7 separate regions of the Homo sapiens genome follow, and regions 2, 3, 4, 5, 6 and 7 are each linked to region 1. The links are contacts of gene promoters, found by promoter capture Hi-C in blood cells and fetal thymus (Javierre and others, 2016). All regions are on one chromosome and are shown on one strand. Each heading gives the region's core, a stretch centred on a gene start or on the middle of the fragment in contact. The rest is flanking DNA. Distances are from core to core; before and after follow the strand shown. Region 1 holds the start of C15orf40 (chromosome 15 open reading frame 40). Region 2 overlaps CPEB1 (cytoplasmic polyadenylation element binding protein 1). Region 3 overlaps CPEB1 (cytoplasmic polyadenylation element binding protein 1). Region 4 overlaps CPEB1 (cytoplasmic polyadenylation element binding protein 1). Region 5 overlaps CPEB1 (cytoplasmic polyadenylation element binding protein 1). Region 6 overlaps LOC105370934 (a long non-coding RNA gene). Region 7 overlaps AP3B2 (adaptor related protein complex 3 subunit beta 2).

The links. The method cuts DNA at HindIII sites, captures the fragments that hold promoters and counts their contacts. A CHiCAGO score of 5 or more calls a contact.
Region 2: a contact is called between a fragment that was not itself captured here and the fragment with the promoter of C15orf40 in region 1, in 16 of 17 cell types (naive CD4 T cells, naive B cells, total CD8 T cells and 13 more). The highest score is 27.5, in naive CD4 T cells.
Region 3: a contact is called between a fragment that was not itself captured here and the fragment with the promoter of C15orf40 in region 1, in 14 of 17 cell types (non-activated CD4 T cells, naive B cells, naive CD4 T cells and 11 more). The highest score is 10.0, in non-activated CD4 T cells.
Region 4: a fragment that was not itself captured here is called in contact with the fragment with the promoter of C15orf40 in region 1 in 1 of 17 cell types (total CD8 T cells); the score reaches 5.0 in total CD8 T cells.
Region 5: a contact is called between a fragment that was not itself captured here and the fragment with the promoter of C15orf40 in region 1, in 1 of 17 cell types (naive CD8 T cells). The highest score is 6.1, in naive CD8 T cells.
Region 6: a fragment that was not itself captured here is called in contact with the fragment with the promoter of C15orf40 in region 1 in 2 of 17 cell types (M2 macrophages and M0 macrophages); the score reaches 5.5 in M2 macrophages.
Region 7: a contact is called between a fragment that was not itself captured here and the fragment with the promoter of C15orf40 in region 1, in 7 of 17 cell types (non-activated CD4 T cells, total CD8 T cells, naive CD8 T cells and 4 more). The highest score is 11.0, in non-activated CD4 T cells.

What each region holds. Positions count from the first base shown.
Region 1 is chr15:83,009,906-83,014,113 of GRCh38, reverse strand. C15orf40 (chromosome 15 open reading frame 40) reads left to right here and starts at 2,475. Exons shown (of 4, transcript NM_144597.3): 1 at 2,475-2,617; 2 at 3,751-3,877. The coding sequence starts at 2,507. LOC124903542 (a long non-coding RNA gene) reads right to left here and starts at 2,373. Exons shown (of 2, transcript XR_007064742.1): 1 at 1,055-2,373. RefSeq lists an enhancer at 2,238-2,297. The HindIII fragment of the contact is 2,628 bases long and covers 983-3,610 here.
Region 2 is chr15:82,548,351-82,552,558 of GRCh38, reverse strand. CPEB1 (cytoplasmic polyadenylation element binding protein 1) reads left to right here. Exons shown (of 13, transcript NM_001365242.1): 9 at 1-79; 10 at 2,901-3,099. Among named protein-coding and RNA genes, the nearest start is that of RPS17, 10 kb to the right of the region's middle. The HindIII fragment of the contact is 1,847 bases long and covers 1,283-3,129 here.
Region 3 is chr15:82,565,050-82,569,257 of GRCh38, reverse strand. All of the region lies in intron 4 of CPEB1 (cytoplasmic polyadenylation element binding protein 1), which reads left to right. Among named protein-coding and RNA genes, the nearest start is that of RPS17, 27 kb to the right of the region's middle. The HindIII fragment of the contact is 428 bases long and covers 2,043-2,470 here.
Region 4 is chr15:82,607,373-82,611,580 of GRCh38, reverse strand. The region is part of intron 3 of CPEB1 (cytoplasmic polyadenylation element binding protein 1); the gene reads left to right. Among named protein-coding and RNA genes, the nearest start is that of CPEB1, 38 kb to the left of the region's middle. The HindIII fragment of the contact is 1,624 bases long and covers 1,330-2,953 here.
Region 5 is chr15:82,623,685-82,627,892 of GRCh38, reverse strand. CPEB1 (cytoplasmic polyadenylation element binding protein 1) reads left to right here. Exons shown (of 13, transcript NM_001365242.1): 3 at 526-700. Among named protein-coding and RNA genes, the nearest start is that of CPEB1, 22 kb to the left of the region's middle. The HindIII fragment of the contact is 2,646 bases long and covers 790-3,435 here.
Region 6 is chr15:83,362,129-83,366,336 of GRCh38, reverse strand. LOC105370934 (a long non-coding RNA gene) reads left to right here. Exons shown (of 3, transcript XR_932546.2): 3 at 536-1,299. Among named protein-coding and RNA genes, the nearest start is that of BNC1, 80 kb to the right of the region's middle. The HindIII fragment of the contact is 4,157 bases long and covers 1-3,856 here.
Region 7 is chr15:82,674,257-82,678,464 of GRCh38, reverse strand. AP3B2 (adaptor related protein complex 3 subunit beta 2) reads left to right here. Exons shown (of 27, transcript NM_001278512.2): 11 at 298-360; 12 at 662-794; 13 at 1,082-1,191; 14 at 1,828-2,004. The region is part of intron 3 of CPEB1-AS1 (CPEB1 antisense RNA 1); the gene reads right to left. Among named protein-coding and RNA genes, the nearest start is that of CPEB1-AS1, 29 kb to the right of the region's middle. The HindIII fragment of the contact is 1,210 bases long and covers 1,176-2,385 here.

The sequences.
Region 1 (4,208 bases), core at 1,226-3,725:
TTCCAGTTTCTTCTTTACCTCCAGCAACCTTCACCATTCCTTATCATGGCCACACCATATACCCTATCATGATGTGGAATTGCTCTACATCTGAAATAGGAAATTCAGACATCCCACTCTCTGGCCACAACCTTTGGTGTTTCTTCCAGCTCTCACTCACATTCCAGTTACACCCGTTATTGAACCTAAGACTGCAGCCCCTTGTCCTCTCTGTTCTTTTCTTCTTTACTTCCTTCTTTACCCAGTTAGACTCTACTTTTGGTCTCCCTCAACCCCTCTCCACCTTTGGTCTTTAATAACTTTAACCATTTCATCAATAACCCTCAACCCACTTAAATATACCTGAATCAATCCAGTTGTCTGCCTTATCTTCAACTTCCTGACTGCTTTGGTAGTAGCACTGGGGCCAAAAAAAAATTTAATTAAAAAAAAAACTTCTTAGCTGGTGAATCCAGGCATCTAAAGTAACGTAACTATAGGCCAGGCGCTAGCTCACGCCTGTAATCCTAGCACTTTGGGAGGCCGAAGTGGGTGGATTGCCTGAGCTCAGGAGTTCGAGACCAGCCTGGGCGAAATGGCGAAACGCCCGTCTCTACTAAAAATACAAAAAATGGGTGTGGTGGCGCGCGCCTGTAGTCCCAGCTACTCTGGAGGCTGAGGCAGGGAGAATTGCTTGAACCTAGGAGGCGGAGGTTGCAGTGAGCCGAGATCCCGCCACTGCACTCCAGCCTGGGCGACAGGCTCTTCCCATCCCCCTGTCTCAAAAATAAACAAAAATAAAATAAGGTAACTATAGATTGGGATCATAGATGATTTCACGGTCTCCCTTAACTGTCTACCGCTGGGTGAGTTGCAATAGTCAGCCCTTTGCCATTCTCAAGAGTCCCAATATACCTTCAACACCTCCCCCGCCTTAGTTAATGAAAGAAATTCCACCTCCCATCACCAAACCTACAAACACAGCTACATGTCCACCTAAGCTTTCCCTTAGGAAGGAAGGAGTGTCTAAGGCCTCCTGTAGAGAACTCAATCTCTACTTGAGCTCAGATCCTACCTCTTCAGGAACCGTCCTCTGCTGTAACCTCTCTTCTCCTGGCTCTTTCCTACCAATCTTCAAATATGATAAAAATAAGTCTCTGAATGTCATGTGCCCCTCCAGATACCAATTGCTCCTTCACAGTGAAGTCACTGGATTATTCTCTACAATTATCTCCATTTCCTTCTCTCCACTAAAACTGCTGTAGCCCGGGTCACCACCACCACCCTGATTTCTAAATCTTGTGGCCACTTCTCAGTCGTTACATGTGACATGTTCTCTCCAGAGTGTTCATCACTGTTGATGTTCCCTCTTGAAGCGCCCTTCTTTAGCTGCCGTTACACCGTACTCCTACCTGGTCAGTGTCCTTTGGTGACTTCTCTACCTGCCCTTGCTGTTCTAACCTGGGCCCTCGTGCTCTTTACACACTCTCTCATCCATTTCCATAGCTTCAATTGCCATCTGCTTTCAGAAGATTCCAGAATCTCTATCACCAGCCTTGATTTCGCAAACTCCAGTCACATATATTCAGTTACCCCTTTAACATTTGTATTTGGATGTCCTGTGGGCATCTCAAACTCATTATGTCCAAAGCTGAACTCCTCACCTCGGCCTCCCAAACCTGTTCCTTGGGCCCCAAACCTGGGCATTTCCTTGACTTTTCCCCCTTATTCGCACATGCAGTCATTCCCAAGTTCTGATCATTTCAGTTCCTGAAGATCCTTGAAATGATCAGCGCTCCACCCTCCCTGCGGTTACTCTAGTTCAGGCCACCCTCTCCCATTTAGGGGGCGGATCTCCCTGTCTCTGGCTTTTCCTCTGTCGGCCACAGTGCAGCCGGTGTCTTTCTAAAACCCAGCAAATTGGGCTGCTAATAATCCCTTGCTTGAAAGCCTTCAGTGACTCCATGATCTTGCCTCTGCTGATTTGTTTCATGTCTCTCCATATCACATGTCGCAGTGTATTTCCTCTTCTTTTACATTGTGGGATCCGCTGCGCCTGGCACAAGGTAGGTGCGCCATCGATACGTGGAAGATTCACAAGGGCCAAGCCGCCACGAGGCTCTATATCGACTTGATGGCCACAGGCAGCGCGTGGGACTCTGCATCTGCTGCTTGGCTGTGGGAGCGAGAAGACACCTGGCCCTGTGCACTCCTTGCCGCGCTCTCCAATTCTGAGAAGTGACAATACCTTTCTTTCCCCGATTAGGAAAGAGGTGACACACCTTCCTATCAGCTGAGCAGGGTGGGCCAAGACACGGTGAGGCCTCAGCTCCGCAGCTCCACTTCCTGGGGCTCGGCCCGTTCCAGAACAAAAGAGACTCGCGCATGTTCTGCGGCCACGAGACTCGCTCCCGCCGGCCTTAAGGTGTCGCCCTCTGGCCAGAGCGGATGCGCCGGGCGGTGGGGCCGCTCCTGCCGGCTACCTGCGCAAGCGCAGAGGGCTCTTCCGGCGCCTTCCCAGGCGGGGATGCTGCGGCTCCGCAGCGGGCTGAGGCACCTTCGGGCAACACCCAATACTCGGGGCTCCGCTCGGCTTCTTTGCGCCGAGATGCCTAAGAAGGCTGGTGCGACGACCAAGGCCAGTAGCAGGTCCCGTGGCGGCAGAGGGGTGGGCCTCAGGGGTACTTGTTGAAGAGCGCGGGAGAAGCGGGGCCCGGGAGTGAGTGGAGGCACTGCCAGCGGCTTGCCGTCTCTCAGTTCCGGGGCTCAGGACAGCCGCCGCCACCCCCAGAGCTGCGGCCTGCTGCCGTCGCCCCGCCTCAGTAGGCTGCGCTGCCGTCCACCTGGTGATTTCTGAGCGCTGGGCCCGGCGGCAGCCGAGCTCTCCTTGGGCTGCGTGTGCTGACCTTTGGCCTCCTACCCGCACTCCCAGTCCAGCAATTCATGTTCCCGCAGCGGCATGACCTGCGTTTCCCCAGGAGGCTGTATTCTGCTTTCTCCTCCCTTGCTTTGGCTGATCGCACCCCTTCTGTCAAGAATACAGCACTCCCATTTCCACCATCTTTGTTTGGCCAACCCCAGTCCGTTTCTCAGACTCAGCTCAAGCACTGCCTCCTGCTGGCAGCATTCTCCAGTGCCCCAATGCTGATTTGCCTGTGGGGTAATGTTCTGTGCCTATCTCATCGGTGCACTTAGCACAGTGTATTATAATTTTGTATGTTCTTTCTCCCTCGCAGCAGTCCGAGCTCCTTGAGAGCAAGGACCATGTACCTTTTCATCTTTACATATCCATTGCCTACATATTTGTTGAACGAAAGTTCCTAGCACAGCCCCTGTCCCATAACAGGCCTTTAAATATCAAGCACTATTTTTTTTTCCTCCCTTTCCCGCAACATGCAGACATACACACTTTCACCAACATTTATTAGCTCCGACTGCATGAGATACAATGATGAATAATAAATGATCCCTGCCCCCAAGGAATTGGAAATACAAAGCAGAGGGAGGAGCAAGCATTAAGGTTTAGAAGCCAGAGTTAGGTTTTCTTGCAAGGGGGGAAAAAACACTGTTGGGTTGATGGGAACCCTTCGTGGGAAAATTGAGTAGAGCCTTGAAGGTTGTGGGAAAAGCTTTCTAGGTGGCCAGAAGTCCCTGGACACCACTGATGAGCCTAGTTTGTCTGTTAAGGGTGAAAGGGGGTAGTGGAAGAATCAAATTAAATGTGTGGGAAAATATTTTGTAACCTGTAAAGTTGTGTGGTTGTCATTTTAGGGTAAAAGCCAGAGCAAGGAACCAGAGAGACCACTTCCTCCCTTAGGTCCTGTGGCAGTTGATCCTAAAGGATGCGTCACCATAGCCATCCATGCAAAACCTGGCTCCAAACAAAATGCTGTAACAGGTATACCTGGACACTGGGGTGGGATTCAAGTGTGAATCAGGTGTCTCCTACAGCCCTCCTTTGCTTTGGTTAGCTGAAAGCTTATTCTATGACAGTTGATTTTTCACATCTGCAGTTAGAGGCTTCTCCATTTTAAAATTCTAGATTCTAATGTAAAGGTGTCTTAAAGTGAATATATCTTTAAATCATGCCAAGTTACACGAAAACCATTGTATATTTTCCTCTTTAAAAATACAGTATTTTAGAAAGGACAGTTATGGAAACTTGTGTGTAGTCTGGATTATTCTTAGTTTGTCCTGTTCCAAAACTGGAGACATTGGCCAGAGAAAGA
Region 2 (4,208 bases), core at 957-3,456, 460 kb after region 1:
CTCTCATGACCCGCTGAGCCCAGATGGCCTGAGTGAATATTATTTCAAGATGTCCAGCCGAAGGATGCGCTGCAAGGAGGTGAGTTAGCGTGATGTCCTTTCTGGATCGAGGGTCTTGGAATATTGAGGCACTGGATTTTCTTGTGGTAGGTGGATAGGCAGGCTGCAGGCAAGGAGTATTCCTGCTGAGGCAAGAAGGCTCTTCTTGTCCCACAATAAAATAGCAGTATCCTCTCAATTACATTAAAAAAAAAAAAAAGCAACCTTTGGGACTTAATGGGGTGTGTGCATGCACACATGCGCATGCCTGCCCATGGTAATCAAACTGTCTGCCCGTCTTTATTCTGCTCTTCTTTCTTGTAGCCAACACTTTGGTTTCAAACCTCTTGTCTTAGAAATGAAATTGAGAACAGCAAACTTCTCTACTTGGACTTAACTGATAAACCTACAGCTGTTTTTCCCTGGTCCTGCCCTTCCTGTGCCTTGTGACCTCCCAGTCTGTGGGGGTGAATTCCTCTTTAGCCCACACCCACCTGTGGGTCACTTCTTCATTCTTATTCAGGGCTTTATTTAGTTTTGTGGGTTTTCCCCATAAGATTCTCTCTTCCTACGCTTTTTCTAATATCAGCCTTATGTATCCTTGGCAGCATGGGTCTCTAACGAGTTTATCTCACCTGGGGATCTCATTGCACATTCTTGGGCCTTATCCCAGACTTACTGAATCACTCTGGGTGGAATTTAGGAATCTCCAACTGAATAAAGATCCCCAGGTGGTTCTAGTGGGTAGTGTTTGAGAACCACTTGTCAAAGCAAGTTTTGAGCTCAGGAATCAGTGCGGTGGTAAAATCGGATTTGAGAGCACACAACTTTTGTGACATTGGACTAGATATTTAATATCTCTGAAACTTTGTTTCCTCTTCTCTTCTATAAGATGGGAAACTAAAATGCCTATTTTAGTAAAAAAGATCAGTGGTTGCCAGGGGTTTAGCAGGAAGGGATGAAGAGACATAGCACAGAGGATTTTTAGGGCAGTGAAACTATTCTGTATATGGTGGATACATGTCATTATACTTTGGTCCAAACCCATAGAAGGTAAAAGAAACACCAGGAGTGAACTCTGATGCAAACCATGGACTTTCGGTGGGGATGATGGGTCAGTATAAAAAAATGTTCCACTCTCATGCGGGATCCTGATAGTGGGGAAGTCACGCAAGTGTGGGGGCAGAGAGTATTTGGAGAATCCCTGTACTTTCTGCTCAGATTTACTGTAAACCTTAAAGCTTCTCTAAAAAAATCTATAGGGTAAGAGGAGAAATGCCTATTTTATTGGGATGGTCACATTAGATTTAAAATAAATCCATGTAACAAAGCTGGCTCTTGTTCTGTGTTAGAGAGAGGGCAGGCTCATCCTCTGGCTGCCCACAGTGACCCACAGCTTCCCTACCTTCTCTGCTTCTTTATTCTCTGGAGCTTGTGTAGTCTTCCCACCTTAGTATGTTCTAGGACTTAATTAACATGCTCCTTTTTCCTCCCCTCCTGCTTTCACAACCAGAGATGGCCATATGCATATCACAGAGCCCTTCCCCTTCCTCCTCAGTGCCCCTGTAGACACCATCCTGTCTCCCATTCCCTCCCATCACCTTACAGGGATTTAATCTTTCTTTGATTCACTGGCTATAGGCTGATGCAGTTCTCCTTCCTCTCTACTTTTCTTTTTCCTTTGTGTTCCTCTCCCCGCCAGCACCAACATAGCCAATATAGCCAATCTTTGACTCCCTTCTTCTTTTCTAGTTCAGATAAATGACTCACTTTGTGGCTTCTCTCACCTTTAGACCCAGATTCACCTTTCTAGCCTCATGTCCTACCTGAGCCTCACCTTCCTGTGGGATCCTTCTTCGGGATGTCCTGTAATCCCAAACTCTTTTGTGGGCAAAATTGGCTTTTTCATCTTCCAGTGAAATTGGCTCCCCTCTTGTAACTTCTGCCAGGTCCTCTCATCCCAAGACCGTGTAGGCCCAGCACCTACCAGGCCTGATTCTTCCTTGCTTGCCCATCCTGCTTATGCTGTCTGAGTACTGCAGACTCTTCTGTTGAAGAATCTCTTTGGTCTTGGCCTGTTCTCTGCTCGTTGCCACCAGCCTTGTCCAAGTCTTAATCACCTGTCCTTTGAAACTACTGTTTTTGCCTCCTTGCTGGTTTCTGCCTCAGATCTCTTCCTGCTTCAAGACATATTTTTAGATCTTCACTTCATTCTGGACTCCTCCACCTGCTCTACAAGGTTTTGTTCCAGGTTCAGGAGATTCAGAGGCAAAGGACATGGTCAGCCCCAGCCCTTTAAGACTCCAGGGATCTTGTATGTGACTTTCTACCCAACCTCTCGCCAGTCATTTCCACTGCTCTGGCACAAACCCTCTGAAGGCTAGGTTGGGCCAGTAACCATCTCATACAAATATCGTAAGCACTCCCACCCCTCTGTCCTTCAGGATCCTAGCCTTTAATTTCTCTGTGAGTCCTTCCTTTCTTGAGGACTTCAGATTATGCCCTTTTCATCAGTGTCCACAGCCCTTTGTTGGAACTACACAGTTGGAGGTTGAAATAGAATGCTGGGCTCCTGGGTTTGGCCATGTGGTACTTTTTTGCTTACTCTCCAGCATGAGTGAGTACTGTGTCCACTTCTACCATTCTGGACACATGGACTCAGTAAAATTCAACTCCAGTTGGGGTGGAGTCAGGGTGGTTTATTGGACGCCTGTGTGCCTGAGATTGGGCAACAGCACCTTTTCACCCCTGTAAGGGCGTTAGCTTAGCTTCAGTATCTCCAGAGCACGTACCTTGCCGTGCAAGCACCTCTCTCTCTGTGGCTCTCTGCCAGGGCTGATACACCTTTGGGTGGTTTTCAGGTGCAGGTGATCCCCTGGGTATTAGCCGACAGTAACTTTGTCCGGAGCCCATCTCAGAGGCTTGACCCCAGCAGGACGGTGTTTGTCGGTGCTCTGCATGGAATGCTAAATGCTGAGGCCCTGGCAGCCATCTTGAACGACCTATTTGGTGGAGTGGTGTATGCCGGGATTGACACAGATAAGCACAAGTATCCCATTGGTAAGTGTCCCACTTCTGTGTGCGAAAGCTTGGTTGGCCCCTGGGAGTAGACCAAGATTGTGATACTTCCCCATGGGAGTGAGGAGAGAGGCCTGACCCAGGTCTGCAGATCAGCATATACCAGCACCATAATATCTTTTTCTAGACAAGTCACGAGTACTGGCCCTTCTGTATCTAGCCCTCTACCCACCATCTCCCACGCAGTGGGAGAAAAAGCTATTGGAGACTACAGGAGGTGATAAGAAGTGAGAGTGAGGTAGGAACTTTGTTGGAAGCTCAGAGTTCACAGCGAAACCAGTTTGGAACAGACAACAGGTACTATTTCATGAAAAGGCTGCAATTCTCTGAACTTGCCTGGAGTTTTTTATTAAAAGTTCTTGAAAAGCTCTGGCATTGTCTAAGGTCAGAGACCAGGTCAGGCTGGAGGAGGACTTTCTGAGTGAGTCAGGCAACAGAGTGTGGCCTGTGCTTTCCTAACTCAGAAGTCTGTGGGCCTAACCACTAGGTTTTGATCAGCTCCTCTGAGAAAGGAGGTCAATTCGCCAGTCCTGGCAAAATGTCAATGATGAGGTATGGAGGTGGAGCAGAGCCTGACCTCTGTGATTAACATGTGGCTAACCCACCTCCCCAAATGCTTAGTCTTCACACCCACACTGAATCTGGTCAGGAAGGAGCACCATGTACTCACCAATACTGTGCAGCAGATTGAGAACAGGGACTTCAGAAGCCCCAGGAGCGGAGGAGGAACTTGGCAGGATGGGGCTTCTTCCAGCTCTCTTAATAGGTCTCCAGAGTGCCTAAGGGCTAGGAGAGGTTCAGTTCAACTGCTGGGCTTACCCTTCAGACAAGTGTTCTATCTGCATCTTGGCTTCCACTCTGAATCCTTTAACCTTAACCTATGCTCTACCTGCACTGAAGGAGTCCCTTATCTTTCCTTCCCATCTTGATCTGCAAATTCTTCCCCCATTCCTGAATGGTTCACGCTAACATGATCTCCACTGTCAAATATGGTACGAATATGGTAGCTACCAGCTAAATGTGGCCCCATTGAGTTTTGGAAACACAGCTGTTGTCACATTTGGAAATAATATTATTAACATATAGGGTTA
Region 3 (4,208 bases), core at 1,007-3,506, 440 kb after region 1:
CTTCTTGGAAAGCCCACATGAGGGTACTACCTCCTGGAGTAGGATGCAGCCCTCCCACCAGCCAGCTGCAGTGCCAGATCGTGCACCCTCACCAGCAATGCGGGAACATGCAGCCCACATTCCAGTGCCTACACTGCCTTTCCGTCTGAAAACCAGCTAGCTCAGTTGCTTCAGTGAGGGAGGAGGCTTTCAACAGCTCTGGGCATTTTCGGAGTTATCCTTGCAGATACCCTGTTACACTGTTGTCTCTGTGTAGAGACCAAGATGCAAGCTTATTCCTTGAGCTCTGCTTGGTGATATATTGCCCAAGGCAGCTATGGCATCACATCTGACCATCTTCTACCACTCTTAAGTAATGAGCAAGGTTGGAGATAGTAGGGCTGTTGGCTAAATTCATCTGGCAAACGTCGAGCATTCGTTGTGTGCAGCACTGGAAGTACAACATTGATTAAGATAAAATTGTTACCTTTAAGAATCTCCGTGGCTATCAAAGGAAAACAAATGAGGAGGTATACCGAGTGCTGCATCTGCTATGATAGGGGCTTTCATTTTTTCCCCTAAGGATTTTCTTCATTGTAACAACCTTTCATTGGATTCTTAGCTTTAGGCTGGTACATGGATACCATTCTCCAGGGGCCAGAGTACTTCTGCTATCTAGATTTCCTTGGCCTCAGAGTCCTGCAAGAAGACCCTGGGATAGAGTCTGTTTTTGAGAATTGTACCTGCAAGGCCTGCATGGGCTTGGATGTAACACTTTGTGGGGTCCTTCTCTTCTAGACTGTGCCTACCCTGAGGCACTATCCCTTGATGGGGAGGAAGACTTTGGGGGCAAGATGAGTGTTATAAGTGCGTTTTTCTCATACCCCAGTGCTACCCTTTCTCATGTCCAGGGCTACCCTTGTCCTGCTTGCAATGTCTTAAGATCTGTAGTGGAACAGAAGGGCTGTGGAAACTGTCCTCAGTATCCTGGAATGGGGCATGGAGTGACTAATAACCACCATTTATCGACTAATTTTTGTGCTAAGTACATCACATGATTTTAATGCTTGTACAGATGAGGAAATAGGCTCATGGAGGTTACAAAGTGCCCAAAGTGACACAACTCCTGGAAGGCTCAGAATTCTAACCCAGGTCTCTGGTTACAAAATTCATATGCTTCCTGTTACACCTGTGGTCCTGTTAGCAGAACTCTAACATATTGGGTGAGAAAACTTAAAGTAACCATATACTACTATAGGGGCTATTCAGCTAGAGGTGATGTGCTCCCTTGATGAGATCTCTGAAGGTGAGGGCATATGGTAGACAGTTCCAGCCCCATCTTGATCCCTGAGTCTCAGCTTATCAGCTGTACCACCCGCTGGATTTGTCTTCCTGCCTTCCCCCTTGCGACTCTTTTGTGTGCAGCATTATGCAGCAGAAGAGTGAGGTGACTGAGACTACTGTGGGGGACCTGGAAACAAGGACTCTCTTAATGATGCCTTGTACAGAAGCCCAGTGGGCAGACCAGATGTGCAGTCTAAGGTTGCCAGAGGACATGTCTGTTTTTTGCCACTCCCCTTTAGAAGTCTCTTGAGGACTAACCTGTTCACACTCTGGTTTTCTTTTCTTTTCTTTTTTTTTTTGAGATGGAGTCTCACTCTGTCGACCAAGCTGGAGTACAGTGGTGCGATCTTGGCTCACTGCAACCTCTGCCTCCCGGGTTCAAGCAATCCTCTGCCTCAGCCTCCTGAGTAGCTGGGATTAGAGGTGCCCACCACCACACCGAGCTAATTTTTTTTTTTAAAGTAGAGACGGGGTTTCACCATCTTGGCCAGGTGGGTCTTGAACTCCTGACCTTGTGATCCACCCGCCTCGGACTCCCAAAATGCTGGGATTACAGATGTGAGCCACCGTGCCTGGCCCACACTCTGGTTTTCTACCCTAACTGCTAATCAGTGAATGGAATGTTCCCTGTGCTGTGTCACTTGCAGGCTCCCCATTGATCTGCAGGCTACATCAGCCTAAGATGAGTGGGGAGTCTTAAGCAATTTTCATCTGAAGCTTCTTCCAAACAACCATTCTGAGGCGACATTCAGAACGGGATTAGGTCTCTCTTATGTGGAACATGGACTTCCTCGGCCCAACCAGGTCTCTTGTAAATCTTCCTCAACTCCCAGTTCTCCAATACTATATTCCCAGCAGTACAACAGTGCTTGGCTAATGGCTGTCTAATACATATTTTTTGAATGAATGATGAGTGCTGAGCCACTGTGTTTATCCTGGTTGTTTTTTAACTGCAGAGTTCAGACAAGGTCTCTCCCATTCTTCTGCCTCCTGCTTGTGTTGATTTAGCTGGATGGACAGATTCTTCAAAGATCAGTATCTTGGGCCCTGTAGCTTCTAGGGGACGGTGATGTAATTATACAAAGTTTTCATCATACAGTGGAGCATGAGCTGTATTGTGGAGTCAAGTAGTCTATTTGGGAAAGCTTTCAGTGCAGAGAGGAGGGAGAACCTGGGAAGCAGTGTGGCCAGGGAGGCCTCCTAGGTGAGAAAGAAGTTGAGGTGGTTAGTGACAGGGGCAGGATGTGTGCTGACCTTACAAGGGACATGAATATGTCTTTTCTACAGGTAATGGAACTTGCCTGATGATCAAGACTGGGAGTTATACTGGGGAGAAGGGCTGTGTTTGTCACTAACTTGAACTTGTGGGATCCACAGTCGGGGGGAAGTCCACACTCTGTTTACCGCCACAGTAGAGATATGGTATAGAGTTGCAGATTTGGGGTCACAGGCAGAGTGGTCTGTTTTCATACATGGAATGAATGCTACTCTCCCCCCTTCCTATTCCTTCAGAGAGATCCTGAGTAAGCAACCTAGAACCAAGGATGGTGATAGGGAAGAAGGGTTCCAGGTATACGGCCTTATATCACAGGCTAGAAATAATGGCTCCTGGTCTGGATTTTCCCCGTTAGATTTTTTCCCCCATTAGACTATTCCCATTAGATAACAAATATCTGACCATCATGTCTTGGGGCTAGTCTCTCCTTCAGCTAAGCTCAAGCTCAGATGGTCTTATAATGCAGGCATTCAGTGCCAGGCTCTTGTTGCCATTGCTAATGCTGCCATCACACTCCAGGTGCCTTTGTACTCTTGGGGAAGGCTTCCGAAAATTTGAACAGTGACTCAGCTGTAAAACCGACAGGAGCTGGCATAGAAGGGTGAAAGTAGAGAAAATTAACAATCAGTCTAAAAATATCACTGCTGATTTGGTCTCTTATACCCTCTGAGGTAGCATTAATGAACTGGAACCCTCTGCCAGGTCCTCTCCTCCCCATGACTTCCCTGAGAGATGTCTGTAGCTGATTTCCTGCCAGCATGTGAATGGGGATGGGTACGTCTGTTCTAGGAAGAGCACAATGTCTTACCCATTTTTAGAAGATAGGAATTTGCTGGACACTTGGACACCAGAGCTGGAGGCACTTGGTAAACCTCAGACTTTCCATGATCCCTTGTGTTCTGGAGGCCAGGAAAGAACAGAGCAAAGAGGTCAGGGCCTTGGCCGTTATTGGAGATTGACTCTAGGACTTCTCACCACCCCTCCCCCTCCTCTAATCCATCTAGGTTAATACTTGACATTTGGAATTATGAAGTTGTGTGCCCCATGATGGGGAGTGGACTTTGAGATGAGACACTGGCCTGCATTATAAGGGACCTGTCATTTCCACTGGATTTTAGTTTGTGTGGCTTAAAGAGAATGCCTTTCCAGTTAGGTATGCTCGTGGCTTTGAATATAAATGGGAACAGTCTAACGCTAGCTATTTTGCTCCTTTCCTTCTGATTCCCAGCTGGTGGAAATCGGTGCTGCGTACTCAGCAACCTTACATAGGGCAGGTATGGTCTCATGAGCTGGGAGCAAGACAGGTTTTCTTTCTTGAAATGAGGTCCCCCCACTTCCCTTTGTCTTTGCTGCTTTGCTGCTTTCTTTCCATTGTCTTTGCTGCTTTCCTTCCTTTGATCTGTAGACACTCAGAGAACTGCCTGGCCAGACCCTATAGAGGTACAATTAGGTCACTCTAGGGCATCTGACCATGGGTGGCAGTTTCCACAAAATTCACTTGTTCTGTGGGTTGAAGGAAATATCAAACCAGCTGGCAAGTTCTAGGCCTCTTGTCTTCTTGGTATCTTCTAGTCAAATTTACAGTATATCCCTTCTGATTTAATATTTG
Region 4 (4,208 bases), core at 892-3,391, 400 kb after region 1:
CTTGCTATGTTGGCCAGGCTGGTCTTGAACTCCTGGTCTCAAAGGGTCCTCCTGCCTCAGCCTCCCAAAGCGTTGAGATTATAAGCATGAGCCACTGTGCCTGGCCTACTATTGCCATCTTAACAATATTAAGTCTTCTAATGCATGAATTGGGGATTTTTTTTGTTTTAATTTATTTCAGTGATTTCTTACAGTTTTCAGTGTCCAAGTCTTGCAATTTATTCATAAGTATATTTATTTTTCATGCTATTGTAAGTCAAACTGTTAATTTTATTTTCAGATTGTTCATTGCTAGTGTATAGAAATAGAGCTGGTTTTTGTACATGGATTTTTGTGTGTGTGATTTCTTAGGATTTTTTACATCTAAGATCATGCCTTCTGGGTGTATCATCTATAAAGATAGTTTTACTTTTTTTTCCATCTAGATGCCTTTTGTTTCATTTTCCTTCCTAATTGTGCTGGCTAAAATCTTCAGTACAGTTTTGAATAGAAGTGAAGAGAGCAGACTTCATTCACCATTAAATATGATGTTAGATGTGGGTGTTTTTGTAGGAGCCCTTTATCAAGTTGAGGATTTTTTTTTCTTTTTTTCTTTTTTTTTTTTTTTTTTTTTTTTTTTTTTGAGACTGGAGTCTCACTCTGTCCCCAAGGCTGAAGTGCAGTGGCGTGATCTTGGCTCACTACAACCTCTGCCTCCCGGGTTCAAGCAATTCTCCTGCCTCAGCCTCCAGAGTAGCTGGGATTACAGGTGTGCGCCACCATGCCAGGCTAATTTTTGTATTTTTAGTAGAGATGGGATTTCATGATGTTGGTCAGCCTGGACTCCAACTCCTGACCTCAGGTGATCCACCGGCCTTGGCCTCCCAAAGTGCTGGGATTACAGGCGTGAGTGACCGGGCCCGGCCTGAGGATGTTTTTTTCTATTCCTAGTTTATTGAATATTTTTATCATGAAAGGGTATTGGATTTTCATCAAATACTTGTCTGTGTCCATTGAGATGATCATGTGATTTTTTTTTACTTTTGTTCTATTAATATTATATTTTATTGATTTTTTTTCTTATAATGAACCAACCTTGTCTTCTTAGGATAAACCCCATTTGGTCATAGTGTGTAATCCATCTTAGATGCCACTGCATTTAGATTAATAAACAGATAGGTCTATGATTTTGTTTTCTTGTGGTCTCTGCCTGATTTTGGTATCAGGGAAATACTTGCTTCATGACTGAGTTGTAAAGTGTTCCCTCCTCGTCTGCTTTTTGGAAAAGTACATGTGAATAATTGGTATTTATTCTTTTTTAGGTTTTTGGTAGAATTCACCAGCGAAGCTTTCTTGTCTTGGACTATTCTCTGGGAAGTTTGTTGATGACTAATACAGGCTTTTTGTTCATTAAAAGCGTATGCAGATTGTCTGTTTCTTTGAGTTAGTTTTGGTAATTTCTGGCTGTAGAATTTATTTCACCTATGTTTTCTAATTTGCAGGCATATAATTATTCATAGTAATTTTTTTTTTTTTTTTTTGCCACGGAGGTTTGCTCTTGTTGCCTAGGCTGGAGTGCAGTGGGGTGATCTCGGCTCACCGCAACCTCCACCTCCCAGGTTCAAGCGATTCTCCCGCCTCAGCCTCCCAAGTAGCTGATATTACAGGCATGCGCCACCATGCCTGGCTAATTTTGTATTTTTAGTAGAGACGGAGTTTTTCTATGTTGATTGGGCTGATCTCAAACTCCCAACCTCAGGTGATCCACCCACTTCAGCCTCCCAAAGTGCTGGGATTACAGGCATGAGCCATTGCAGCCAGCCCATAGTAATTTATATTCTTTTTTACTTTCTGTAAGGTTGGTAGTATTGTACCCACTTTCATTTCTTCTTGGTTAATCTAGCTCAAGGTTTATCAGTTTTGCAGATGTTTTTCAAAGAACCAACTTCTGTTTTTTTTTTTTATAGTTTTTCTAGACATTATTTCGACTTTAATCTTTGTTGCTTCCTCTACTTGCTTTGTGTTTATTTTTTCTAGTTTCTTTAGGTAGAATGTTAGGTTATTGATATTTAATTACTATTGTTATTATTTTTTTTTTTCTGAGACAGGCTCTCGCTCTGTTGCCCAGGCTGGAGTGCAGTGGCGTGATCACAGCTCACTGCAGCCGCGACCTCCCAGGCTCAAACAATCCTCCCACCTCAGCCTCTTGAGCAGCTGGGACTACAGTTGTGCACCACCATGCCTAGCTAATTTATATTTTTTTTGTAGAGGCAGGGTCTCTCACTATGTTGCCTGGGCTGTCTCAAACTCCTGGGCTCAAGTGATCCTCCTACCTCAGCCTCCTAAAGTTCTGGGATTACAGGTGTGAGCTACGACATTCAGCATAATCTTTAACATAGGATTTTACAACTTTCCAAGTATTATTTTCATTGCATGCCGTAAGTTTTAGTATGGTGTGTTTCTTTATCTCAAAGTATTTTCTCATTGCCCTGTGATTTCTTCTTCGATCCATTGATGAAGAGTATGTTGTTTAATTTCCACGTTTTGAGAATTTTCCAGTTTTCCTTCTGTTACTGACTTCTAATTCTGTTCTTTTGTGGTTGCAGAATGTACTTTGTATGATTTCAGCCATTTCACATTTATTGAGACTTCATGGCCTAACTAACATATGGTCTGTCCTGGAGAATATTTCATATACACTTAAGATTGTGTATTCTTCTTTTGTAGATTGAAATATCTTGTGTCTGTTCTAGTTGTTTTATAGTGTTCAAGTATACAGTTTCCTTCCTGATACTGTCATCTTGTTCTATACATTAAATAAATAAATGAAAATAAAATCAATGATCAGGGTAATATTAGTGAAATGGCAGAATAAGGACCTCTGAAATTCTTCCTACATAAAAACCAATGAGAACACTAGCAAAAAATTGTCACAATAAACTTTGTCAGAACTCTGGAAATTAAACCAAAAGCTTGCAGAAATCTGGGGAGTATTTGTTTAAAAACTAAAAACAAGATAGCTGAATCTTGGTAAGAACAACATTCTTTGTGGCCTTTTAATTTGTATTATTTTCATACCTTCCTCCCTAGCTCTACTACAACCCTGAAAACCAGCAACCTGCATCACAGCAAAAATTAGCAGCCTGGAAGCCACTGAAAGGACAAAACAGTTGGAGCTCAAGCCCCATCCTCAACGAATTGTCATTACTTGACCTTTTACATGGTTACACACAAGGCCCCACTTATGTGGTTGTATTTGACCTACCTCCGAGCTCACCAAGTACAGCCAGCCATTTCCCATTTCCCAGGGAAAGTTTGTTTAAAAAAAAAAATCAGAGGCAATTATTAAATATCCCAGGTGCCTGAGGCATTAGGCAACAGTTTAGGAACTCAACAGGCTAACCAAAAAAGCTTAAAAGGCTGGGGAATGAAATATGAGGCTTTATAAAAAACTCAATATATTCCTGGGAATCTAGGCTAACCTGCATGCTTGAAAGAAAGCATTAGATTAGAAGGCCCTAAGCTCTCTCTCCTGGTTAACCTTGAGGCTCTGTACAAACAAGAAGTGAAGAATACTGCAGAGTTGTAAACTGTCTGGCTCAGTGTGGAGGGCATACTGGGCCCCTTGTCAAAGACTGGGAAACTTACTGGTTCTAAGCATGTAAGGCAGTTTCTGTCCATCATTGCTGAAAGTGAGCTATTGATGTTTCCAGCAATAGTGTTACTGTTGAAGTATCTGTTTCTCCTATCATTTCTGTCAGTTTTTGTTGCATATATTTTGGTGGTCTGTGTTAGGTTCATTGGTGTTTATAATTGTTAAATTTTTTTTGATAGATTAACCCTTTTATTATAAAATGTCCTCCTTTATCTCTAGTAACAATTTTTGTCTTAATGTCTGTTTTGTCTGGTAATAGGCACAGTTATTCTACCTCTCATTTGGTTATTATTTGCAGGGTATACTTTTTTCCATCCTTTCAACCTATTTGTGTCTTTTGTGTCTTTGTTTTTTTCCTTGAGACTTGAGTCTCGCTCTGTCATCCAGGCTGGAGTGCAGTGGTGTGATCTTGGCTCACTGCAACTTCTGCTTCCCAGTTCAAGCAATTCTCCTGTCTCAGCCTCCCGAGTAGCTGAGACTACAGGCACACACCACCACACCTGGGTAATTTTTGTATTTTTAGTAGAGACGGGGTTTCACCATGTTGGCCAGGCTGGTCTCGAACTCCTGACCT
Region 5 (4,208 bases), core at 863-3,362, 390 kb after region 1:
TCATAAACACTCATTAAGTGTTTTAATATATTAAAAAAAGTCCTTTACTGGCAAGGTACTTTCTGACTCCAGGAACAAAATATCAATTGAACCAATTCTGAAAAAGAGTTCTTGTCCAGACCTTCTTGTTGTACAACCAAAAGACTGGCAGCTGGTGTTTACCTTTTCCCTTAAGGCCCAGAGGTTAGCAGCTTTATAGATAAAGGCAATCCTAATCATAAACCTGACTATATTTGTAGAAAACTAGTAGAGTTAGCCTACCCCTTTTTGCCTTAAATCCTGGTGCTTGATTCTCTTCCTTAATAGTATCCTTTGTGGAAATTTTTCCACAAATTGGCCAAGAATATTTTGGTATTTTTTTCTTACAGTTCCGAGTACTTAGCTCATAGTAAACACTCATTAAGTGTTTTAATGTATAAAGAAGATACTTAAGTCCTTCCTACTTTATCTAATTCGTAATGTGGAGAGAAAGGGGGTCATAAAGGAGTGTAGAAAACCTAAATATCTTTTTTTTTCTGTGTCTAGGAAGAAGAAGCAGGAAGGATAAAAGATTGCTGGGACAACCAGGAAGCACCTGCTCTCTCCACGTGTAGTAATGCCAATATCTTTCGAAGGATAAATGCCATATTGGATAATTCTCTGGATTTCAGTAGAGTCTGCACTACACCTATAAACCGAGGAATTCATGATCATTTGCCAGGTGATTTAGGTTTGAAAACTTGAACGTGGTAGGCATCTGTACAGATCTGCTTCTAAGTAGTGCATGTAAGAGGTCTTCCTTGGAAAGCTTGTGAAGAACAATGTTGAGTTGCTGGCAATACTTGCCTTTTTGTGGTTTAGTTTATGGATTGAATCCCTCTCTGGGTGAAGACTGCCTTTGATTAGGATGTGTAAACCTACTTTATGATACACAGAAAGGTTGGGGAAAAAAGAAAAGGTCACAGATTACACAAGTATTTATATAAAGAGATATAATGTGGATCACATATGTTACAGATTTTCTGGTAGCCATGTTAAAATTAAGATACAGATGAAATTAATATTTTATTTAACCCAATATATTATAATATGACAACATTTAATATGAAAACTATTAATGAGATTTTTTTTATTAGTACTACGACTTCAAAATCCAGTGTGGATTTTACAAGCATATCTCAACATGGACATTTCAGGTGTTTAGTGGCTACTGCACTGGACAGTGTAGCTCTCGAATGTTTTAACAGCTTTTAAACATGAGTCAGCACGCATTTAGTTTCTGTATCTATTGGATACTCCAAGGAATAGTGGAGATAGAGGGCAGCATCCCCTGAAGTTGACTCTTTCCAAGAGGTGTGGATGTCCTAATGGTGTTTAATTTTGTGGGAGTTGCAACCCATTATAAGAATGTTGAAGTGTTCTGGGTTTGAGTTATTTATTTTATTTTATATTTTCTTTTTCTTTCTTTCTTTTTGTTTTTTGGGACGGAGTCTCACTCTGTTGCCAGGTTGGAGTGCAGTGGTGTGATCTCGGCTCACTGCAACCTCCAACTCCCTGGTTCAAGCGGTTATCCTGCCTCAGCCTCCCTAGTAGCTGGGATTACAGGCACGCGCCACCACACCCAGCTAATTTTTGTATTTTTAGTAGAGATGGGGTTTCACCATGTTGGCCAGGATGGTCTCGATGTCCTGACCTTGTGATCTGCGTGCCTTGGCCTCCCAAAGTGCTGGGATTATAGGTGTGAGCCACTGCACCCGGCCTTTATTTTATATTTTGTTTTTCTTTCTTTTTTTTGAGACAGAGTCTAGCTCTTTCGCCCAGGTTGGAATGCAGTGGTGCGATCTCAGCTCACTGTAACCTCTGCCTCCTGGGTTCAAGCAATTCTCCTGCCTCAGTCTCCCAAGTAGCTGGGATTACAGGCACCCGCCACCACACCTGGCTAATTTTTTGTATTTTTAGTAGAGATGGGGTTTCGCCATGTTGGCCAGGCTGGTCTCAAACTCCTGACGTCAGGTGATCCACCCACCTCGGCCTCCCAAAGTGCTGGGATTACAGGCACGAGCCACTGTGCCTGGCCTGTTTCAGTTGTTTTAGATGAAAGAATATATGTTTAATTTTTAAAAATGGTCCTTGAAAACAATTAGCCACAATGGGGATTCTCAAAACAAGGACTGATAATTACAGTCAACCCTTGAGCAACACTACGTTGGACTGTGCAGGTCCACTTACATGCAGATGTTTTTCAACCAAAGCTGGAAAATGTGGTATTCAAGGGATGTAAAACCCACACGTATGGAGGGCTGACTTTTCTGGTATAGGTGGGTTCCTCAGGACCAACTGCAAGACTTGAGTATGTGCGGATTTTGGTATACTCTGGGGGTCCTGGAACCAATTCCCTACATATACCAAAGGACAACTACTGTTTTTAGTTGTAAATTCTTTTATTTATTTTTTTAACTTGGCGTTAGAAATAATTCCCACAAAAATGCAGGAGTATGTGAGCAGTAAATAGCGTAATGTTTGAGGGAGAGGCATATTAAGGGAGTGACTAACTTGTGGCATTTGCTTCTGTCGTACAGGAAGGCAAATGAGAGAAGGGCATACTTGGGGGTGGGGGTGGTTTTTGTCTCTTCTGACTTGTACAAAAGAAAAATGTAAGTCATGAGCTAGCCCAATTCTCTTTTAGTTTACGCTGAGTTAAAAGTTCAGGGAGTCATCTTTCTTAGTTCTAATACATGTTCTGTTTTTCTCCTTTGAGAAAATTGCATGTATTATGTCCCAGTAAGAATGACAGGCCAGGCATGGTGACTTAAGCCTGTAATTAAGGCTGGAGCAGGTGGATCACTTGAAGCCAGGAGTTTGAGACCAGCCTGGGCAACATGGTGAAACCCCGTTTACAAAAAAATAGAAAAATTAGCCAGATGTGGGGTGTGCACCTAGTTGCAGCTACTTGGAGGGTGAAGTGGGAGGATCACTTGAGCCTGGGAGGTCGAGACTGCGGTGAACTGTGGTTGTGGCACTGTACTACAGCCTGGGTGACAGAGCAGGACCCCTGCCCACCTCTGCCAAAAAAAAAAAAAGTATGACACTCAACAATTCAACAATGACTTAAACCTCACTGGGTTGTTTCAGAGATGCTGGAAACTTTTCTAGTTTACAGGAAAATATTTTTCAGCTAATACTAGGTGTTGGACTTCAGGGAAAGGACCCATGATTGATGGGAGAGGAGCTTTCCAGAGTGTATGTTTGCAGCTGTCCAGGGAGCCCAGTGACTTCACTGGTAAGATGCCAGGGTCTGGTGACGATGTTGTTACCATTATACTCTGCCCAGGGTCAGTAGCCGAAGTACAAGTTAAAGACTTCTCGGGCTCTTCAGCTCCTTCTCAGCCTCTTAGAACATTCTAAGAGAAGCAGGAGGAAGATCTTGAGGAAATTGGGAAACCTGGGTTCTAAGCTTGACCCTGGGCAGTGAGATAAAGAGGTCAGTTTTCTCAGCTGCAGGACAGAATGGTACCTGCTCAACCTGCCTCACAGGTTTCTTATGGGGCTCAGATGTTAAGACAATACTGCAGATTTAAGGGAACTCAAGGAATTCTAGGAAAGGTTTCTGTCAAAGGTAGCTGATGTTCTTGAGCCTTTCACGTATACCCAGCCCCTCCCATGTGTGGTGAACTCTCTCTGCTTTCCACTTGTGATTCAGCTCAGGGCTGTGGGCCTGTATTCTCGAATGGTGAAACAAGGATGCCTGGCCTACAGCAGAGAGCATTTTTTCTGTGGTCACCAGCAAAAATACCAACCTTGTGATTAATGAGAAAGTAAACTAGGATATATATTTTTCTATGAAGAACCTTAAGAAATAACCCAAACTTGTAGCTTCTGATCAAAAGTAATTTTGTTCCTTGAAGGAAATAATCAGAATTATGAAAACCTAAGATTGTTTATGGACAGCATTATAACTAGGGACAATTTGGCAACAGAATGTTAAGTAAATGATAGGAGAGCTATACCATGGAATATCATGTACCATAAAATATAATGTTTATAGAAGACTACTTAATGGCAAAGAAAGATAACTACAGTGTCTGAAATGAAAAAAAGCGAAGTGTAAAACAGGTGTAAAAAAAAGTGTAAAAAGAATGGCCTTAAATATATATGCATAGAAAAACACTGGAATGATATAAATGTGACAGTGAAGGTAGGTAATAGCAGAAAAAAATTATGGGTAATTT
Region 6 (4,208 bases), core at 529-3,028, 350 kb before region 1:
CAGAAAAGGCATACCTATAGAGACAGAAGGTAAATTAGCGGTTACCTGGGGTGGGAGAGAGAAATAACTGCAAATGGACACTGCGGGTTTTTGGTGGGGGGAGGGGATAGAAATGTTCTAAAATTAGATTATTCCTATTGTGGCACAATTCTATAAATATATTCAAAAACTATCTAATTGTACTGGTAAAATAGATGCATTCATTGATATGTAAATTATACCTCAATAAAGCTACTTAAAAATAGCAAATAACTAAAAAATTAGCACTAAATATTTCTCCACCTTAAAATAAGTTCTTTCACCCTCGTCCTTTTCTAGTAATATCCGGTGAAGACGAAGGAGCAAAATGGTTTTAAGGCAGACTCACTTATTTAAGAGAAGTATATATTCCCATTGCCGGTGGTTTGATACCATTTTTATTTGCTTTCAAGTACACTGAGGTCTGGCAAGGCAAGGAAAGGAGGGAGAAGGGGGAAAAAAGGAGGAAAGTTTGAAAAGAAATAAAAGCTATCGAACTTTTTTTTTTTTTTTTGAGACGGAGTTTCGCTCTTGAACCTGGGAGGCGGACGTTTTTAAAAACAGCTGCCTGGAGAAGCGGCCGGACGCAGGGGAAGGCTGCGCTGCCGGAAAGGGTTAACCCCGCGGGCGCCGACATCTGGCAGGAGCGAGGGCGTTGGCAGAGCCCGGTCCGCCCGTACCAGTCTGTACAGGGGAACTGTCCCGCCTGCTGATTTATCATTCCCTAATGTCACGGGGATGGGATGTTGAAATTGTGGCTAGAATGTGAAATACGAAAAACACGAAGATTATGATTTAGCGTCTGGGGAAGATCAGCGTTAGCCTGCAGAACAGCTTGTAAACGGGAGGCATCCTTGGCCCTAGCTTGTGGTTTTTGACTCCAACACTCAAGCTGGGGATCTGGGCGGGCAGAGCTTTCTTGGGTTAGAGCAGACAGGCAAAAGTGGAATTAATAAGAGCAAAACCACTTCTGTGCTGCTATGGGGATAGTGCGGGCGAGCGCCAGGAGGACCAAAGTAAATTTTAATTAAACAGAGACCTGATGTTGAAGGATAAATAAAACAACGTGGGGTGTAAACAGCTTAAATCAGGGATTCAAATGACACCTGCGGGTGTCTAGACATGAGGTGCATCCTGATAATTTATAGTCTCGGAGAAGATGCAGATGAGTAGGATAATATCTGCAAATTTTGCTCCTTAAAAGAAGTAATAGCTTGAATTTTAAGGAGGTACTAAATAAGGGAACTAAGTGGGAGAATGATTTTAACAGTTATCCGTGGAGGAAAAGGGGTTAGCAAAGAAACACAAAACTACATGTGTGTAAATCTTGCATTAAAAAAAGTAAAAGATCAATGCTTTGTGTGATTTCTTGCTTCCCTCCAAGGATTTACATAGTGTGTTGAAGTTTTTCTTTTCTTTCTTTCTTTTTTTTTTTTTTTTTTTTGCATTTCCATCTTTCAGCATGCCCCTATTTACAGGGAAAAATGCAGTTTCCACATTGTTTGTTGGTTATCAAAATAAGCGTTGACAACCGCTCCCTCAATGCTTACAGTTTGTTTTAATTACTTCCTGTCATACCAAATGCATCTACCATATGGATTTTAAGAATTGGCCTCAAGACATGGGCGTGCTGTGTTGAAAGTTAAATAGGACAGCTTGACTACTGAATCTTGAGGTTCATTCATTTGTTCATTTATTTATTCATCCAGAAAAACTACTGCCCCAGGCACTGTACAGAAATGAACAAGTCTGCCTGCCTTCACAAAGCACGCTATCTGCTCAATGGGATGATATGAAAAGTGTGTGTGTCTGTGTGTCTGTGTGTGTGTGTGTGTAGCTGATAGCCAGCTAGAGTACTGAGTCCATTTTGCAACAATAGGTGGAAATATATATAAAGGAGTTATTTTTCTGTCCAGCAATATCGGGCAGTGGAACTTTGCCAGAATTCAGTACTTCAGATAACTGAGGATAATCATTCTTAAGAACCAATTAAAAATTGTAAAAGAATGTTTGCTGGGAATCACTCTAAAATATAGCACTTACTCCTCTGCCTTCCTTTCATTTGGTCATGATGACCCTTGACTACAGTTGCTTTGATACAGGGAGTCAGGGGCCTGGGAGGTTTTTGTTTACTTGTGTGTTTATTGTATGTCACAGTTTCATCCTTATTGTTGTGTGATTTGGGGCCATTAACCTCGCTAACTGTGCTTCTTCATCTGTAAAAGGAGGGGGTGGACTTCACTAGAAGTTCTTTAAAGGCCTGTTCTAGTTTTGATGTTTGTTGCTTACCTTGTGCCATCAGTAAAGTCCCAGTGCCTTTACACCGTGGAAGGTATCGCGCCCCTTTGGAAAACGCCCCTAGTATGTGATGACATGGGACCCTTGTTAGGATCAAGGCTGTGCTTGTTAGAATTGTGTCCAAGGTACCTGTAAGCATGTTCTGAGGGAGGCTGTGTGAAGCTCTTGGAGGTTTCCAGGTCATGAACTCGACGGCCGTTGTGAACTTGTTAGGATGCTCACAGGCTTCTTTTTTTGTTTGTTTGTTTCTCTCTCGCTCCTATTTATTTATTTGGCTTATTTTTGCTTTCGGTCATAGTCTGGAAAATTGAGGTCACTTTAAACCTTATCCCTAGATAAATGGGGTATAACTAGACATATACACCTTCCAGTTGTGCTATTACAAGGCAGAGGGAAATTTTTCCTACTGTGCATCTCTAAATTTCCAGAACAATGGCACAAAATACATTCCACTTTTCTGTGGGTCAGTTTAAGTTAGCTTCTTCTCTAAAACTGCTATCAAGGAATTCAGCAAACATTTATTAAGTAGGCACCTTCTCTGCTCCAGCCCTGGGAGAGTTGCTGAAAATAAGAGAGATGAAAAGCCTGGTCCCTAACAGGGTGAAGTTCCCTGGTATATGCAGCTCACTGGCATAATGTCATGACACAGCTCTGCATGGCCCGCTGGTCCCACCACACTCTCTCATGGGTTTGTAATTCAGATGCATTTGTATGTTTTGCCCCAGATAAAGACCTAAAAAGTGCAAGTGAAATCCCACTGTTCTGTTAAAATAGAAAACGTTTGATGTCGCCTATATTTATGCCTTTTCCAGATATTTTATAATTAAAGGGTTATTGTTATTTGCTATCATAACAATATGATGTAATACATGATTATTGTGGAAATCTTGGAAAATACAGAAAACTTGAAAAAAGGGAATACAAATCTGCATGAGTTGCCCCACTTAGAGGCAACTACTGGCAACATTCTGGCCTATTTCCTTCAGGTCTATATTCTTACTTACTGAGGCACTATGCTAGTGACACTGCAATGAATGACTGCATCCTCCTCTCAGAGCTCACAGCTTAGAGACCTTGTGTTAAGTGTGATGACCTGGAAGTACAAAAAGTAAGTAGGAGGGACTTGACCTCGGGGCACTTCCGTGGACTCTGGGTTTAGGAAAGGGTTTCCAGAGGGAGAGACATTTAAGTTGAGACCTCAGGGCACTTCCATGGACTCTGGGTTTAGGGAAGGGTTTTAAATTGAGGGAGGGACATTTAAATTTATACCTAAAGAATCAAGGGAAGTTGTCCAGGAGATGGAAAGGGTGGCAATGGGGGGAAGGTGTGAGTGAAACGTGGCTTTGGGGTGACTGGAGGGCAGAGGGCAGGGGCCTCGAGGAGGAGGAGTGATAAGAGATGGTGCTGCGGAGGTAAGCCAGGCCCCAGGCAGGGAGCTTATCAACCCAGTTATTAATATTCTGTAGCAACAACTTTGGGTCCTGAGTCTTTCTGGTTTTATTTCATTTTAGATTCTGCACTTCATACCATAGCATAAGCTTGTTTCATAATAATATAAATTATTTTAATGGATATATAATATTCCCCCAATGCATGAGGCGTCATTGACTTAACTGTGCCCCTTTTGTTGAATATGAATCTTCCAAGAATTTAAAACAAAAAAAAGAGTGTTTTTTTTTTTTTTTTTGGGCTTCACATTCCACTCCCCTTATAGTTCTCCATGGTCTCCAGGTAATGGTAAAACTGGAACATTCTAAGCAAGATAGATATATTCATGCTCTTTTACCCCAAATCAGAATTTCGACTATCAACCAGAATCCACTGCCTCATGACTCCTGGCAGCAGCTGTTAAATTCCCTTCCAGAAGTAGAATCAACACAGCTTTCATTTCT
Region 7 (4,208 bases), core at 531-3,030, 330 kb after region 1:
TGGTGAATACGATGGTCTCCATCCTGAAAGCAATAGGAAGCTTTAAGTTTTCAATGCAGTAGGGAGGTGACATGGTCATACTGTAAGCATACTGTGTAGGGAATCCACTTAAGAGGCAAACTGGTCCTCTTGCTTTTTAGACAAGTTTCATAACCTGTCAATTCCCTCATCAGTGTGAGGATGATGCAGGGCTGTCATGAGGATTGTTTTCTGGTCTATGAAGTGTATTTGGAATGAAAGCACAGAAAGTCCACTGGCCAACCCACCCATTTTCTGCCTCTCCAACCCTCCCTGCAGCTGGAAGTGCTGACCAACCTGGCCAATGAGACCAACATTCCTACTGTCCTACGGGAATTCCAGGTACAGGCCAGCTCCCAGCCAGAAGGGCCTGGGAGAGGGGCCCATCAGATCCTTGTGCCCTGGTGGGTAAACCTCCTCTTATGAGCCCAAGGCTGGAGAAACTATTATCTTACATTCCCGTTCCAATGTGTTTGGCTGGCTTTGGGCCAAGGAATCACTGGATTGGGGGTGGAGTTGTCACCCCCTTTCCCAAGTCTTAGTCACCGGCATGATAAGCCATAAAATGAAAGGCCACAGCCTTCTTGAAGGTCACCCTCAAGCCTGCAGAGTCACTGAGGGATTTCTTTGTCATATCCCACAGACCTATATTCGCAGCATGGACAAGGACTTTGTGGCAGCCACAATCCAGGCCATTGGACGCTGTGCAACTAACATCGGCCGAGTCCGTGACACCTGCCTCAATGGCCTGGTGCAGCTGCTGTCCAACCGTGATGGTCAGTGTTTCCCTGAGTGTCTAACCGTGATGATCAGAGGGTGTCTGCCTGCAGGTCTGACTCTGCTGGCCACTGGATATCCACCAGTCTGCCTAGACACAATGTGTATCCATTGGTCTGTCTGTCTTGATCAGGGCCCAAGTGTTCCTACACCTCTGAGGGCTGCTAGAGAACTGAAGGGGGTTGAGAGAAAGAGCCAAGGGCCTGGGGCACTGCAGGTGTGTCTGTCCACCTGAGTGTGGCCATCTGACTGTCTTGGGGTCCACACACTCATTTTTGTTCTGTAGAGCTTGTGGTTGCAGAGTCAGTGGTCGTCATTAAGAAATTGCTACAGATGCAGCCAGCACAACATGGAGAGATCATCAAACACTTGGCAAAGCTTACAGACAACATCCAGGTGAGGGAGAAGCCATATTTTCACTCCCCACTTCAAGGTCCTCCCCATGATTTCAAGACTGTATAATTACATATGCTAGCCTTATCAAAAGTAACTTCCAAACCTTAGGTCTTCAGGTGGAAGGAGCAGAGACACTGGACCATGTGACCCTGACCTTGTTACCCCTGATTTGCTTTCCCTTTGGAGACCCTCAATGAGCACGATGGACTTTACTACTACTCTTGTTTTCTCTCTAAAGCTCTAGCCAACCATGGTTGAGTGACAAATCTTGTGTTTTTCTATCGCACTGCTAAGCTGAAACATCTAAACAAGGCATTCCCAAAGATTCTGGAGAGTAACATGGAAATAAAGTACTGAGGGTACAATGAATCCAGAAAATCAATCTTTTACATCATGACTGACTTAGGGTCTTGAAAGCTCTATGCTAATGAAGCCCTAGGGAAGAGGGGAAATGCTGTCTAGGAAATGTCTACCTTTTAACCTCTCTCTATCTCACCACCCCCAACTCCCATTTCCAGAGAACCCATAATACAACAGGCCAGCACAGATGAGGAGTGCTGTTTCCCTGGAAGTCCACAATCCTACCCACCCACTTTCCCGTATTTACCCATCTTCACTCCTCTCCCACAACCACAGGTGCCCATGGCCCGAGCCAGCATCCTGTGGCTCATCGGAGAGTACTGTGAGCATGTCCCCAGGATTGCACCTGATGTCTTAAGAAAAATGGCCAAGTCATTCACAGCAGAGGAGGATATTGTCAAGCTGCAGGTCATCAACCTGGCAGCCAAGCTCTACCTGACCAACTCTAAACAGGTAAAGATTAAGAGATGACCCCCCAGATACTCTGGTCCCCAGAAACTCCCTAGACAGTATTCTTTTGGCCCTCCCTAGGCAGGGCTGAACTCTAGCTCCTATTTTGGAAAAGAAGAATCAGGGAAGGTGGCTGGTCTGCCCACATAACCAATGCTACCCCAGTGCCCACAAAGACCTTGTAGTGCTGGTGGTCACTGTTGAAGAGACTCTCCTATGAAGCTGTGACCTCCAGTCTGCTAGTACAAGAGTCCTGTCTGCCACCTTGGAACTCTGGGGCTGTGAAGAACCACAGTTGATTGGGATAAGGGAAGGGCCCAACAGTGGCAGGTACTGATGGGAGAACATGCATCCCAGATGTGGTCTGTGCTTCTTTCCAAAGCTTGACAATGCTTGGCCAGTCTGTGCCAAAGATAAGGGGGTGAGTCTCTGCTTGGGCTTGGGTGGTGCTGGTGGCCACTGTCATTCCCAAGGTGAAAGGTTATAAGAGATACACAGCCAAGGATGAGGCTCAACTAAGTTGTAGTATCAGGGTGTTCAGAGCCTCCTAGCTGTCTGGCATCTCCTGAGATGGTTCCAGGAGATTCTCCTAAAATGAAGCATAATGTGCTGAGCTTTTCAAGGTGTCAGGGACATCAAACACCATGACGATTTCCACACTCTCCCACTCAGTTAAGCAGGACAGGGATTGGCAAACTACTGCCCATAGGCTGAATTTGGCCTATTCCTGTTTTTGTAATAAAGTTTTGTTGGAACACAGCCCTGCTCATTCATTTACAAATTACCTATGGCTGCTTTTGTGCTACAACAGCAGGGTTAACTAGTTGCAACAGACTGTATTGCCCACAAAGCCTAGAATAGTTATTCTCTGGCCCTTTTATAAAAAGACTCTGCCAATCCTTGAAGCAAAACCTCTGGCTAGGTGGCTGGGGTCTACAGATTTATAGCAGGGATATCCCCTGGAGACTGTAGCATCCCTGCCATGTCCACTGTGCGTGGGAGTCTTTGGATGGTGGCACTTATCTTTTTCAGTGGCTTCTTTGATCCATTGTGGCCAGAGTGAGCCCCAGAGGCTCAAGGTGAGGTAGGCAGGGCCACCAAGTGCTGTGACTGTAATCAGGAGTCAAAGGACAGCAGCAACATGTGGAGGCAACTGAGTCTGTATAATTAAATATGCTAGCCTTATCAAAAGTAACTTCCAAACCTTAGGTCTTCAGGTGGAAGGAGGAGAGACACTGGACCATGTGACCCTGAGCTTGTTATCAGTGTTGTGGGCAAAGCAGATTGGAGAGAGAGAAGTTAGAGGGGGAGAGAGAGAAGTTAGAGGGAGAAAGAGCACCATGGGGAAGCGTTCAATCGTTGAAAAAATATTTGTATACTTCCTTTGTTCAGGTGGGAGGAAGGAGCAAGTGGGAGGAATGTTTGAAAAGATGAAGCAGCCTGGGTGGGGAGCCACCCAGGTAGGTGGGAGTCTTGACATGCTCAGCAATGAGCCAGAGTCCTAAACCCCAGGATGGTGAGGTTGGCATGTTTTCATAAGCCTGGGCCTGTCCACATGTCATTTCCCCCAAGTTGTCACTGTGAGCTACATGTGCATTTGTTCATTTATTTAACATATATGTAGGTGGGAGTCTGACATGCTCAGCACTGAGCCAGAGTCCTAAACCCCAGGATGGTGAGGTTGGCATGTTTTCATAAGCCTGGGCCTGTCCACATGTCATTTCCCCCAAGTTGTTACTGTGAGCTACATGTGCATTTGTTCATTTATTTAACATGTAGGCCTACTATTTGCCTGGTACTGTGCTGCGTCCTGAGGATATGACAATGAGTGAGACACATTTACAGGTCTCCAGATACTCACAGCCAAGTAGGAGAAACAGGACAAAAATAAACATTTTAAACACAGCAGTAACAGCTGTCATCAGGGTTGGCACAGCGAGCTGTGGGTATATACAGCTGAACCCTCCCCTAGGAATGACCCCTGTCAGGGAACCCAGAGTAGGCTGTTCAGGCAAATGGACACTCACCTCCAGGGCGCCCTTCACCTGCAAGTGAGTTTTTGCAGGCCCCTTAGAATGGTTATTTGATTCAATAAAGATTTTTGTCCTCCCTTTCTTTCTCCTTTCTTCCCAGCCTCTTCTGGGAGTGGTAAAGAAGGGGGAGTCCTTGGGGTACTAGGAGGGAGGTGGTTTGGATGCGCACATGAC